2 separate regions of the Homo sapiens genome follow, and region 1 is linked to region 2. Evidence: promoter capture Hi-C in 16 types of primary human blood cells and fetal thymus (Javierre and others, 2016). All regions are on one chromosome and are shown on one strand. Each heading gives the region's core, a stretch centred on a gene start or on the middle of the fragment in contact. The rest is flanking DNA. Distances are from core to core; before and after follow the strand shown.

Evidence for each region. Contacts are between HindIII fragments. The CHiCAGO score rates a contact against its expected background, and 5 or more counts as called.
Region 1: a contact is called between a fragment that was not itself captured here and the fragment with the promoter of ASPN in region 2, in 1 of 17 cell types (megakaryocytes). The highest score is 5.2, in megakaryocytes.

The regions. Positions count from the first base shown.
Region 1 is chr9:92,581,162-92,587,814 of GRCh38, forward strand. All of the region lies in intron 5 of CENPP (centromere protein P), which reads left to right. Among named protein-coding and RNA genes, the nearest start is that of ECM2, 48 kb to the left of the region's middle. The HindIII fragment of the contact is 534 bases long and covers 2,247-2,780 here.
Region 2 is chr9:92,477,167-92,484,241 of GRCh38, forward strand. ASPN (asporin) reads right to left here and starts at 5,340. Exons shown (of 8, transcript NM_017680.6): 1 at 5,127-5,340. All of the region lies in intron 5 of CENPP (centromere protein P), which reads left to right. The HindIII fragment of the contact is 2,340 bases long and covers 3,420-5,759 here.

The sequences.
Region 1 (6,653 bases), core at 1,264-3,763, 100 kb after region 2:
CCCTGTCTTTTAAAAATAAGTACATAAATATCAAGATACTTACTACTTTAGCAGAAAACGAGAGGTATATGATGGGGAAGAGGAATGCCAGGGTACTTCTGGGGTGTTGGCAAGATTCTGTTAAGCCATATTACATTTTGTGTTTTTTTCTGCATTCTATAAGACATACATTATAGTTTATGCATTATAAAAATCTGTGTCAAGAAACCAAATAAGATCCAAAATATATATATATAAAGAAACTCACACCTAAATATAATTTAATGGAACTGCAGTGACCAAAGATGAAACGAAGATCTTTGAAGCATCCAAAGGAATGGATTGGCTATATTGGCAAACTCTGATCCTTCAACAGCAGCAATGGAAACCAGGAAGCAGTGGTAGCTTCGTTACTCTCAGAGAAAATAATAGCATACTTCCTATACCCAGCAAATACTGTCTTTCAGAATGAAAGTGAAATAAAGAGAATGTTAGATTAAATAGAAACTGAGAGAATTTACCTCCAATAGACACACATTTTAGAATGAAAGGATCATCTCCAAGTAGAAGGAAAATGATCCAAGAAGGAAGGTTTGAGGTGCAAGAAGGAATAAAAAGCAAAGAATAAGGTAAATATGTCAAACAGTGACTGTATAACATAATCATAATGATGTCATATGAGAGGCTTTTTAAGCTAGCATTCAAAAATACACAGTAATACAAGGTTGCTTGAAATTAAAATGTTCTGAATTCTTGTGTTCAAGAGGAGGACTGAGACATCCATTTGTTTAGACTTTGATGAGTATAGATGATAAAATGTCTAAGGTAACCCCTTAACAAAAATAAGGTATGTGACTTTTCAGCTAACACAGGGGAAAAACACTTGGTGGTGTTTTGTTTTGTTTTGTTTTGTTTTGTTTTGTTTTGTTTTGAGACAGGATCTCCCTTTGTCACTCAGGCTGGAGTGCAGTGGCATGATCTTGGCTCACTGAAGCCTCAACCTCCTGGGCTCAAGTAATCCTCCCACCTCCGCCTCCCAAGTAGCTGAGACTACAGGCACATGCCACCATGCCCGGCTAATTTTTTTGTATTTTTTTTGTAAAGTTGGGGTTTTGCCGTGTTGCCCAGGCTGGTCTCGAACTCCTGAGCTCAGGTGACCTGCCTGCCTTGGCCTGCCAAAGTGCTGGCATTACAGGCATGAACTACCACACCTGGCCCAAAGACACAGTTTTAAAAAGCTGATAAAGAAAGCAAAAAGGAAAAAAATAATTTTAAAACAATTTAAAAAGTCAATTGTGGGACATCCAGATAGAACAGAATGAAGAGGTCAGTGATCCTCTTCCCAAGATAACAAGTGTAAAACTGAAAAATTCACTAAAATAATTGCTTAGGGCCCTGGAGATTGACAAAAGGTAAAGAAAAAATAATGTGGAGCCTGATTCTGCCCTCTCTTTTATTATCTGTGTTCAATAACGGTGTCCTTTCTGGAAAAAAAAAAAAGACACCCAACCCCATTCCATATTCCTCATTGTCACTATGTAATGGAATAGAAAAAGGGGACTGTTGTATTGTTAAGATTCTTTTTGGTGGCAAGTAATAGAAACAACACTTCAAATAAGCCCTAGTACGCAAGGGAATGTATTGGAAGGGCACTGAAGAATATCCTGCTCTCAAAGGGCAGGAAGAGTAGAACGACTCCCTAGGGCCTGGGAAGAGGAATGGGGATACTCTTGTGGCCCACCGAGTCTTCAGATTCTCTATCTTGCTTTCTTTTTCTGAGGTCTTGTGTTCTCTTAGCCTCACCACTTTCTGTAAGTCTACTTTACTCTCCTCTCCCAAAAGGTGTTGTCTTCTGCAGAACAGCTTTCACTGTGTTTGACAGGCACATGGCAAAATGATGCATCTATATGTCTTCAGTTTAAGCAACTTCCCAGACTGGTGGTCGGATTCTCAATGTGAAGTTTCTCCAAGACAGTCTGATTGGGTCGTCTTGGGTCATGTGTCCATCCTTGGTCTCATCAATTATTATCTGTGGGATCAAGATCAAATTGTACAAGCATGGCTGGGTGGTGGTGATATACACTAGTATAGAGTTAAACATATTCAGCAGAAGAATATTCATGTAGACTACCCTATAAAAAGCCTTTGTAACAAACAGAAAAGTTAGTGTTTAATATAACTTTATTCAGTCAACATGCATTTATCTTTACTTCCTGAAGAGAACATCCTTTGTATTGTTGGACTGCTTTACTGTGTAACCTAGTGCAAGCTTTGTACCTATTAATCTGTCGGTATGTATTGGTTTGATTATTTTCTGTTTCATTCACTTATAGCATATTTGTAAATGCTTACAGGAATCTTGTAGGTTTTAACTCTATCTCACAAGTATCATTCTTAAACTAATATATGAGGTTCAAAGATTATGGGTGCTTTATTTCATTCTTAGCATTTTTTTCTGAATATGTGCTTAAATTACAGAGGAGTGGGGTTTTTTTTTTCTTCTTTTTTGGAGGGTAGATTAAAACCATTAGCTATACTTAGGCATAGTCCTCAGTGGATAAGAGTTGTTTTGCTTTCAAAATTTTCAAGCAGGCTTTAGTGAAACAAACAATATTTTCACTATGAAATCACCAGCATGCTAGCTGGAAGAGCTGTGCCATCATCTGTTTATGGTGGTATGCCATTTGGTATCTATAATTCAGAACAGCAAAGGTAAAATTTAAATGTTTGCATACTGAAAATTACTTCTCTATGTCTTTGGAAAAGAGTATTAGCAATGGTTGGGCATGTAGCAAAAACCAAGCTTTCTGTCTATGAGTTGATGGCTCTGCTTAGTTCAGTTTCTTGAACCATTACAAGCCCCATGCAAGCATTGTGCTGTCTGTCAAATATAACCAAAGGCTGAATGAAAACACTGGGATTAGTTCCACTTCCTCAGAATGTGTCAGGGACCTGGCCACACCTCACCCCAGCCATCCCCCAGTCCCAGCCTGGCCCATTTCATGAGGTACCATTCAAATGACTCCCATCTGCAGCAATACAAATTACTTTCCAAACAAGTCCCTGGCTGCAGTGACTCCCAGCATGCATTGGCTTTTCCCATTTACTCTTTGCTTCCCAAAATCAGATGAGGGTCTTGCCTAAGTATGTGTTTCACATAGTATTGGCACAGATAGGTGTTCAGTGTTTTGTTTATTTTATTGTTTCTATGTTTGTTTGTTTGTTTGAGACAGGGTCTTACTCTATCACCCAGGCTAGAGTGTAGTGGCACCATCACGGCTCACTGCAGCCTTGACTTCCCAGGCTCAAACAGTCCTCCCACCTTAGCTTTCAGAGTAGCTAGGACTACAGGTATGCGTCACCATGCCTGGCTAAGTTTTACATTTTTTTAAGAGACGGGGTCTCACTATGACTGGTCTTGAACTCTTGGGCTCAAGCCACCCTCCCACCTCAGCCTCCCAAAGTGCTGGGATATGCCTGGCTGTAAGTTCGTTTTAACCAGTTAGTTGTATTGTTCATTCAACAGGCTGTTATGTGTGAGGAACTGCAGTAGTTGCTTCTGTCTTGGGCCAAGTGTCTTCCCTAAAGCTCTAGAGTCTTTAAATTAAAACATCTATATAAAAATTTCCCTATTTTTCCTTTCTTGTTTAAATTTATTTCTCAATTATTCTTCCATAATTCCCAGTTTCATTAATTCCTTTTACATTTTGTTTAGCTTTTTCATTTGTAGGTCATGTACATTCGTACATTCATGAATTCAGCAAATGTTTGTCAAGCACCTATTATGCACCCATGTATTATGCTAGCAGTAACAAATTGCATGTTATATAGTTGTTTCAGTGCTTCAGTATTTAGTTGAAGCAACAAATATATACACCTAACTGTAACCACAAGTGATTGCTATACTATACAGATTATATGGGAATATAGTAGAGGAAGCAGGGAGATTTCCTGAAGAGATGGCATTTGAGTAGAATGACAAGAATGTTTACAGGTGATGCCTGAAGGAAGACTGCTCACTAGGACTGGGCTGTAATATTAGAAGCAAAGGCTAGAAAGTAAGTTTGGAGAAATGTTACAGAGGGCCTTGAGTACCACATTTTAGAAATATAGTCTTCATTCTAGGCTCTTAAAAAATCAGTTTATATTTTTGAGGGGGGATAGTGACATGAAATCACTCATGTTTAAGGAGGATAGTTTTGGAGATTTGTAAATGATAGAGAATCAAAAGTCTGGCTCCATTTTTGATAGTTGACTATCCATTCACCAGTTGATGAGAATTTGAGTGGTTAGAATTTGTTTGTCTGTACCAAATAAAGCTGCTGTGAACGTTCATGTGCAAGTCTTTGTATGGACTTGATTTCATTTCTCATCGTTAGATTTCTAGGAGTGGAATTACTGGTTGTATGGCAAGCTTATGTTTACAGTTTAAGAAACTGCCAAACCAAAGAAAATGGGAGAGTAGGGCTCTCAAAGAATCAGTATCTCCTCTGAAACCACCATAAACTGCCAAAAATTGACAGTATAAACTTTCGGAACTCTGGAATCTAAAATTGACAGAATAAACTTTCAGAACTTTCAGAACACTTGCAACGACTGGGCAAGTGCTTGGTGAGGAGAAGGCCTATGAATTCCAGTGAAAGTATCAATATTATGGTGTTTTCACTAGGCTATCATCTATCCTTCCCTAGCACAGAAGGGGCGGCTGTGACGATAGCAGCCCATGTTCTTGGTGTAGCTTGCTTGGTACAAAGGGATGAATATAGACCTTCTTTAAAAACTGTGGTTGTTCATTCTGACCTGTCTGCTGGTTCCTGAAGGGACTGGTGCAGAGGCTGACCTTTGTCCCACCACCCCCTCATGAGTTGGAGTAGCTTTCTGGGAAGTGGTAGCATCTGTAGAAATTTTTTTTTTCTCTTTTTGAGACAGCGTTTCGCTCTTGTCGCCCAGGCTGGAGCGCAATGGCGCAATCTCGGCTCACTGCAACCTCCGCCTCCCGGTTTCAGACGATTCTCCTGCCTCAGCCTCCCAAGTAGCTGGGACTACAGGCATGCACCACCATGCCCGGCTAATTTTGTACTTTTAGTAGAGACAGGGTTTCGCCATGTTGGCCAGGCTGTTCTCAAACTTGTGACCTAAGGTGATCCGCCAGCCTTGACCTCCCAAAGTGCTGGGATTACAGGCATGAGCCACCGCGCCCAGCCTGTAGAAAGATTTAAAGTCATGTACTACCCCTGCCTGCCTGGGGCAAGGGATGGTGGACAGAGCAAGCAGCAGACAAATCCAAAAACCCTCGAAGGAGGAGGCTGGGGGAAGTTTCTTGGGGAACAGAGGGCTTGGAAGGACCATGCATATACCAGGGGAAAAAAGAGTACAATATACGTGCCCGGTATTGGATACATACTCAGAAAAGACCTAAGAGGAGACTAGCTTTGCACCTCTGCTGGAGCAAGTAAGGGGTGAGGGCTAAGGCAGAGTTGTAGGCAGGCTGCCATAGCTTTAAGGGAGTGCCCCTCTCAGAGCCAAAGTGGAAAGACTGGGAGAATCATTTTTTTTTTTATTTTCTTTGATCTCCAGACATCTAAGGAAATCTCCATCAGGTCACTGGCTTACCAATGAGATATTGTAACAAAGACTTCACTGACCACACACAAGCAGGAATACAGTCTGTGCAAATGGTTTGGAAAAGTTGTTAAGCAGACAACTGCAGCCCTCAGCAATCAACAACAGCAAACCCTGAGGACGGGAGAATTTGGTTCCTAGAATCACTGCATTCTGGTATTCAAAATACCTGGTGTTCAACAACAAGAAAAAGACAGGGCATAGAAAGAAACAGGAAAGAATGTCCCATTTGGTGGGGGCGGGGGCGGGGGCACATGGGAATGACAGAAATCATCTCTGAGGAAACCCAGAATTGGACTTACTAGACAAACACTTTTAATGAACAACTGTCCTAAATATGCTCAGAGAAAAAAGAAAAAAACAGGAAAACAAAGTATGAACAAAATGAGATATCAATAAGGAGACAGAAATTATAAAAAGGGGGCCCAGCCGGACGGTGGCTCACGCCTGTAATCCCAGCACTTTGGGAGGCCGAGGCAGGCGAATCACCTGAGATCAGGAGTTCAAGACCAGCCTGAGCAACATGGAGAAACCCTGTCTCTACTAAAAATACAAAATTAGCCAGGCATGGTGGCGTATACCTGTAATCCCAGCTACTGGGGAGGCTGAGACAGGAGAGTCACTTGAACCTGGGAGGTGGAGGTTGTGGTGAGCCGAGATCATGCCGTTGCACTCCAGCCTGGGCAACAAGAGCGAAATTGCCATCTCAAAAAAAAGGGGGGGGACCAATCAAATTGTGGTATTTGCATATAATGGAATATTATTCAGGCATAAAAAGGAATGAAATACTGATGAACCTTGAAAATTGTATGCTAAATAAGCCAGACACAAAAGGTTACATATTGTATGATTCCATTTATACGAAGTATCCACAACAGATAAATCCATAGAAACAGAGAAATTAGATTGGTGGGTGGTGGTTGTTGGGGCCAAGGGAGGCAGGAATTGGGATTAACTACTTAGTGGGAACCACTTTTATTTTGAAATGATCAGAATGTTTTGGAAATAGAGGTGGTGGTTGCACAACACAGAGAATGGAGTAAATGTCACCT
Region 2 (7,075 bases), core at 4,090-6,589:
CTGCTGGCAGGCAGGTTGATGTTTCGTATTCCAGTCATCCTGTGAATGCTGTATGGGGTCCTGGTAAAGGTTACTGGGGGCTTCCTTCTCAATATCACTTTGTCCCTGGCACATTGTCTCTGTGCCTTTGCTGTCTGTCTAACTTTGACTCATTATGTGTTTTGACTTAGGGCTGTTGTGTGGCTCCTGACTCCTTAAGGTTTAGTGCCCAGCTTTGCCTCAACCTTCAAAATACTCATTCCCTAGAAAATTCAGCTCTTGGTCCTTAGCTAAATCAAAGTTGGCCCCTGATTCCAGTTTATTCTGTAACATTCTTGCATTACAGCTCTGTCTTCTAGGTGCATAGCTGCCCTTGACCTTGTCTGACCTTGGCAACAAGGAGCTATAGAATTATAATGTCATTTAAGGTCCTGTTTCTGGCTTTCTTTGAGGTTGCTGGAGTTATTCAGTGGGCATTTACCAAGCACCCACTGTACCCCATGCAGTGTCACTCGTCAGAATGCTGAATTTCTTAAAGTAGAGCACACCTTCCTCCCCATCCTCTTCTCTCCCACACTTCCCTACTCAAAAATAAAAAACCCGCAACTCCTAATCAACTACTGTCAGGTAATACGAGATCGTAAAGTTAACACTTGAATGTCAGGTACATTAATAGAAAAACTAAAAAATAAAATGCCTGGATTAGTAAATAGACAATGTAAACTGTATATACTGTGACTTATGGGGTAGGAACAGGGGTGTAGGGCTTTAACACTAGATGTGTGGTACCCAGAGCTTTGAAAGTAAAATTCTTCACCGTGTCTGTCTACGCATAACCCTCAGTTTACTGTTTGAGACCAATAGAACTAAAGACATTTATAAAAACATATATTCACATGAAAAAAAGATTGAAATAGAATGTACAAACCTGGTAAGAGGGATAATGGGATTATAAGCAAAGCATTTTTTTTTTCTTCCCATGCATAGTTTCTTAATTATGTTGCTTTTAAAATATTTTAAATGTCAGTCCGCCAACAGAATTTTCTTTGCTTTATTTCTGCATATACTGCTGTCTTTTCCTACCACTTTTGGTAGGAATTGGTGTAATCAAAGGTTTCTCATACACACTATTCTCATCTATTTCTACCCAAAAGTCAAACAATAGCACCTACTTGGGAAATTGTTTTGGGGTTCACAATTTCTTGAGGCTTAATCCTATTTGTTCTGGTCAATGGGAAATGAAGATTTTGACAAGGTTATTTTTTAAGTTGGTTGATTGTGCTTTTTTGTTTGTTTTTTTGGGGTTTTTTGTTTGTTTGTTTGTTCGAGATGGAGTCTCACTTTGTCGCCCAGGCTGGAGTACAGTTGCGCCATCTTGGCTCACTGCAACCTCCACGTCCCAGGTTCAAGTGATCCTCCCACCTCAGCCTTCAAGTAGCTGGGATTACAGGCATGTGCCATCATGCCTGGCTAATTTTTTATATTTTTGTAGAGATGGGGTTTCACCATGTTGGCCAGGCAGGTCTTGAACTCCTGACCTTAAGCGATCCACCCATCTCGGCCTCCCAAAGTGTGCCACTGTGTGAGCCACTGCACCCAGCCTGAATGTTTTAGTTTAAGTTTTTTCCCATAGAATCTTTGAACCAAATGGGCTTTAGATTCCCAGTCTGGACCGGAAAAACCTATTTAACAGATAATATATCCAAAATGTAGAAACAAAAAAACTATGGAACTTAAAAAAAAAAAGTAAAACACCAGGAATGTGTTAGAGATCCAAAGTGGGGTGCCAAGAACACATCGTGGTGTTCCTTGTGGCCTGGCAGCGGGAGCAAGGACTGGCCTCAGCTCCTTTGCACACCACGTAATGGTTTCCCAGATGCCTTCAGCCTCGTGCCACCGTCAAGAGAGGCTTCCCCAGTACTGAGCTGAGGTTCGAGATGAGGAACTGGATCAGGTATGAGGAGCAGAACTGAGAGTTGAGAGGAGAAGGAGAAGGCACACAGGGCAGGGAAGGCAGGGAGCAGAACAGTAGTGGTCCTGCTTTTTTCCACATCCCTGCCTCAGGGCTGCTGACCAGTCCCCCAGTGGCATCAGGAGAAGCATCAGCCGGGGCCCCTTCCTTTGTCTCTCCTCTTTCTGAGACTGATAAGTTACAGGAGACCCTCCCTGCCTTTAATCAAAACTGCGGTAAAATTAAAATATGAAATGGAGACTTCTGCCTGCAAGTTTTAGGCAGTAGCATTATCTTTAGCTGTTGGGAAGCATTCCAGTTGCTGAGCAGTGGAGGCAGCCACTTTTATATAGTAGTTAGGCCCTTTCCTGGAGAATAAGAGATGAAGACCTTTGAAACAGGAGTTCCTCCTGGTGGTGAAGGTTCCAGAACATTCTGGAACAGGGAGCATATCCACCCTGCTTGAATAGCTCCAGGGAGAGGATACTACCTCAAGGCAGCATCTTCCACAGTTGTCCATCCATGGCTGTTAGGAAAGTCTTTATATGGAAACTCAAAAATGCCTTCTGGAAAATTCATTTCTCTCTGCTAGTTCTGTCTTCTGTTAGCCTTTTACAATTAATCTAATCTTTTGCATTTGTGTATCCTGGTTGCTTGCAAAGAAAAAAGTCAGGCCAACCTTGATACCATGAGGAATTCATTATTTACACTCTTTACCTGAGTCTCTTGCTGGGTCTCTTCCACTGCTTTGTTAATAAGTACAATCAAGTATAGGTCCTAAACCTCCCCCAGTTCAGTGTGCAACTGTTTACCAATAGGAAAATAATGGAATGTCTAGGAGAGAACCCTAGATAGCAGTATTTTTTTCTTATTATTCAGAAAGAATGTAGAGAATATTATATGTCATTTAAAATGATATGACTTTTGGCTGTTTTATTTTGAGTTTATTAATGAGGTACAACCTCTGTTTTATTAGTTTTGGCAGTATTCAGGTTACTCTATTTTTAAACCCTTTAAAAATATTAAATCTTCTTCTCAGGAATACTCAATATTTCCCTGATTTAGACCAGTTTTGCCAGTGTTTTCCACTCATGGAAAGCTTTGGATTTTGGTTTCAAGTCTCTCTTAATCAGAGTAGTGTTTGGAGTATTCTTCCAGTGCTACTGCTATTACTAATAAATCATAGTAGCCTAGAGCTAAGAGAGGTCTTTGAGACTTTCCCCCCATGGCCCTCTTTTACTGAGAAAAAGCAGAGGCAGTGAGCGTCCAGAACTGGCTGGAGGTGGTGGAGCTGAGGGCTGGCTTCCTCACTGCTTGTTGGTTGTGCTTTGCACTAGACTGCATGTCCTCCTAAATGGATTTTAATCTCATAGTTACTTCCAGACAGTAAACAGACTTTCCTCTGGAAAAGCCTAGGTAAGGAGGTTTGGCCAAGTTCTTAAAAGAGTTCATAACATATGGACTGGAAATAAAGCTTAAGAAGCACATAAGCTTTCTTGTTTCCATTTAACTGGTCTACAAACTTAGAAAGTTTATCTAAGTGAAATGGTATTTCCTCTCAGACACTATTATTAGGTAAATAAGTCACTGTGCTTTTAAATCCCATGTTTAAAGGCCCGCTTGGCAACTTTTCCCCTGGGTTTAAACATGCCTATCAGTTCACAGGTACCAGTAGCAGATTTCAGCATATAAATGTGATATAACATACTCCATATATTTCACCGAAGGAATCCAAACCAAATTCAGATGTAATCAAGGCATAGTCTTGTAAGCTAACAAATGAGTTAAAAGTCCAACATGCATTTGGAAACTTATTCACAGTACCATTTGTTCATGGATACTGATAAAGATAGCACTTTCCTTAAAAAGTAGTTAATTTTACCTTAGAAGTATAACTAGCATTCTGACAAAGCATTCTAGCTGTTCTTCCTTTTATACTAATTTTGCCCTTCATTAATTTCTCCACATGTCTAGCAATCAAGCTACTGTCTTAAAAAACAAAATCTACTGCCTCTCCATTTTTATGATGTTTCCCACAGTGCCTCAAGACTTGTGCTTGTAAAGTTAATTGTTTTTGTCTCAAACCTCAGATCAGTTATCAGAATATTTGTTTTTAATTGAGTAGTTAGTTGTAACAGAAGACTATATATCCTCTGTTCTTTCCACTACTACACTATACTCCTTAATGCCAAAAAACAAACTAAAAACATCAGGATCCTTTTATGTGTGTGGGCTTGTGCTCGATTTTTCTTTCTTTTTTCATTTCTTTCTTTTAACAGCTTGATTCTTGGATTTAAACAACTTTATTTTTAGGGAAATACAACCCCCTCAGGTTCTTTATGACTCAGTCCCTACACCATGTGGCCACTGTTTCCTGGGTGCCACACCTCTGAATAGATTAACATGAAAGAATGCTGTGCGCTATTTAGATTACTAGGGAGTAGAATATTGAATACATTGCTTAAATTTTTTAATCTAAAATTTAATCAGAAATTTACTTTGGGAGTAGACAAAGGAAATCTTTGAAAGTGTTAAATTCTGACTGTATACATGCTGTGAAAATTTCCTAATCTTTCATATTGAATATAGTGCTAGCTAAACTATTGCTGATAAGTATTCTTTCTTGGAATTGAATAGATTTCCATTTGAACTTTTCAGTGCCATTTCATTATAATAAGGAAGACATTTATCAAGGAAAAAAATGAATATTCAAATGTATAAGTAAAATTGACATTTCAGTAATTCACACATTTTAAATACACATTAGAAAATATTTTAAATATTGAAAAATATATTTACTGTTTCATTTAATATAGCTGTGATATCCCCAAACTTCATGATCATTATTATAGCAATGTTATTTTCCTAGATAAACATACAAGATGTTTATTTAGATGACTTTTAAAATCAATCATGTTAACATTTATGGTAAGGCATAATGACAGGTTTTCACTTAGCTGAAAAAAAAAGTCACATAATTATATTTAAAATACATTCATTATAGGTAAGACATAAAACTAGAATAATTTTAGGTACAAATTTAGGTTTGTATTTAAATGCTGATTTTTAAGAAATTATAGAGATAAACTTTGGACTTTATCCTATTATTTATAAGCATTTATTAATAACATTAATGTCTCCTTAGTATTGACTGTAAAGTATACATCGATACTTGTAAGATAGACATGAAACATACCTGTCAGAAGAGAGTAGTCCTCCTAAAAGTAGAAGTTATCCACCATGTACTACTTATCTATAATGTAAATGTTCTCAGACACTGTGTAAGAAGAAAAGATGAGGAGGTATTACATTTAAAAGAAAAAAAACACCCTTCAACACAGTCCTGGTGTGGCTGCACCCTGGGTGATACTGGAATAAACTGCTCCCACAGATTAGTCCATGTTAGTACTGAGGAGCAAGATTAAAACTTGTTACTGCTCATGTGTTTTCCATCACTGTTTGTATCGTAGCCAAGACTTCTAGCTAAACTCTAGACGTCTACTGGAAGATTCTGAAGAAGAAAAAAAAAGAAAGTTTAATAATGCATGGCAACTGGCCATTGAAAGTGCAGTCGGAGTCATTCAAGAAATACCTAGTTTTAAAAATATTAGATTCTTAAGTGAATGAATATTTGTAAATTACAATTTCAAAAATTACTCAACCTGTATAGACTAATAAAATATTTATCAATCTGAATAAAGGATACCAACATTACTGAAGTATATACCCAAACTTCAGATGTACCTGAGAAAGAACCATACTTTTTTTTTCTTCTAATGACTGTAGCTATTGCATTATGCATACTTCTCCAGACTTTTTTTTTTTTTTAAGCTTTTAGCACTGCTATAGCATGTCAGGGAAACTATGGATGAGGCTCCATGAACTGCTCCCTGGACTCAACATATGTGATATAACACAGACACACATGCATGTCCAAGTAACACCCTCTTAGGATGCATACAACTTTCCCTTTTCAAGAGAATATTAGCTATGGCCTCACTGACATTTAGGGAGACTTAGAGCAGGGAAGATGCTATTTCCTGAAAATAAATCATTATTTGTACCCCCTTTCCACTCATCCCCAAGAGACTGCCCAATTCTACATCAACTAAGACCTTCAAGAGAGGACAGTTTTCTTTTTTTTTTTTTTGAGACGGAGTCTCACTCTGTCACCCAGGCTGGAGTGCGGTGGCGCAATCTTGGCTTACTGCAAGCTCTGCCTCCCAGGTTCACGCCATTCTCCTGCCTCAGCCTCCCGAGTAGCTGGGACTGCAGGCGCCCGCCACCACGCCTGGCTAATTTTTTGGTTTTTTAATAGAGACAGTGTTTCATTGTGTTAGCCAGGATGGTCTCGATCTCCTGACCTCGTGATCTGCCCGCCTCGGCCTCCCAAAGTGCTGGGATTACAGGCATGAGCCACCATGGCCGGCCTGAGAGGACAGTTTTCTAACCCTAGTGGCAAGGACTTACTGTTGTAAGTGACCCCAATGGTTCTTCCCAACTGTTGTATAGATTTGGAGGCCAGCAAAGAGCTTTTCCAGTGGGTTAGAAGACCTGTTCTCTACTGTCATCAAGAGTCTGACCATCGTTTGTTCCCTCTCTCCAGAGAAATGGCACACATTGTGTTAAGCAAGGCAGCTACAGTCCTAAAGAATACATGTGCCTCAGATGTGCATAGCAGCTGGCTATGTGTTCATCCTCCCCTCACTTAAATAAAGTACTCCTCCTTGGACCTCTAGGCTGACAGTTCCAGGCAGCTCGGTAGTCCCATTAGTGGCCCTCTGTAACTCAGGCCCCATCCTAGCCCTGCAGCACCTTAGGGAATGACGGCCCTCCTGTTTGGTTTAGAATGCTCATATTCTCATTTATTCAAGTATATTTCAGTTGCAAATGTATCTGTTAACTGGATGAATTGGGAACATAATGAAAATATGAACTGGATTTTTAAAATCTTTGTATCCAGAGCATCTAGTGTTTGCCTAAATTCCTTCAGAACACAGTCATAAACAGGAAGCCCTTGGGTCAAATTCAGTTTGTCCTGCACAATGTTTTGTTTCTGAACTGTTTATTGAAGTGTATGTTACCAAAAAAAAACATATCATAATGGTACAACTCAATTAATTTTTACAAAATGACCCCAATCAA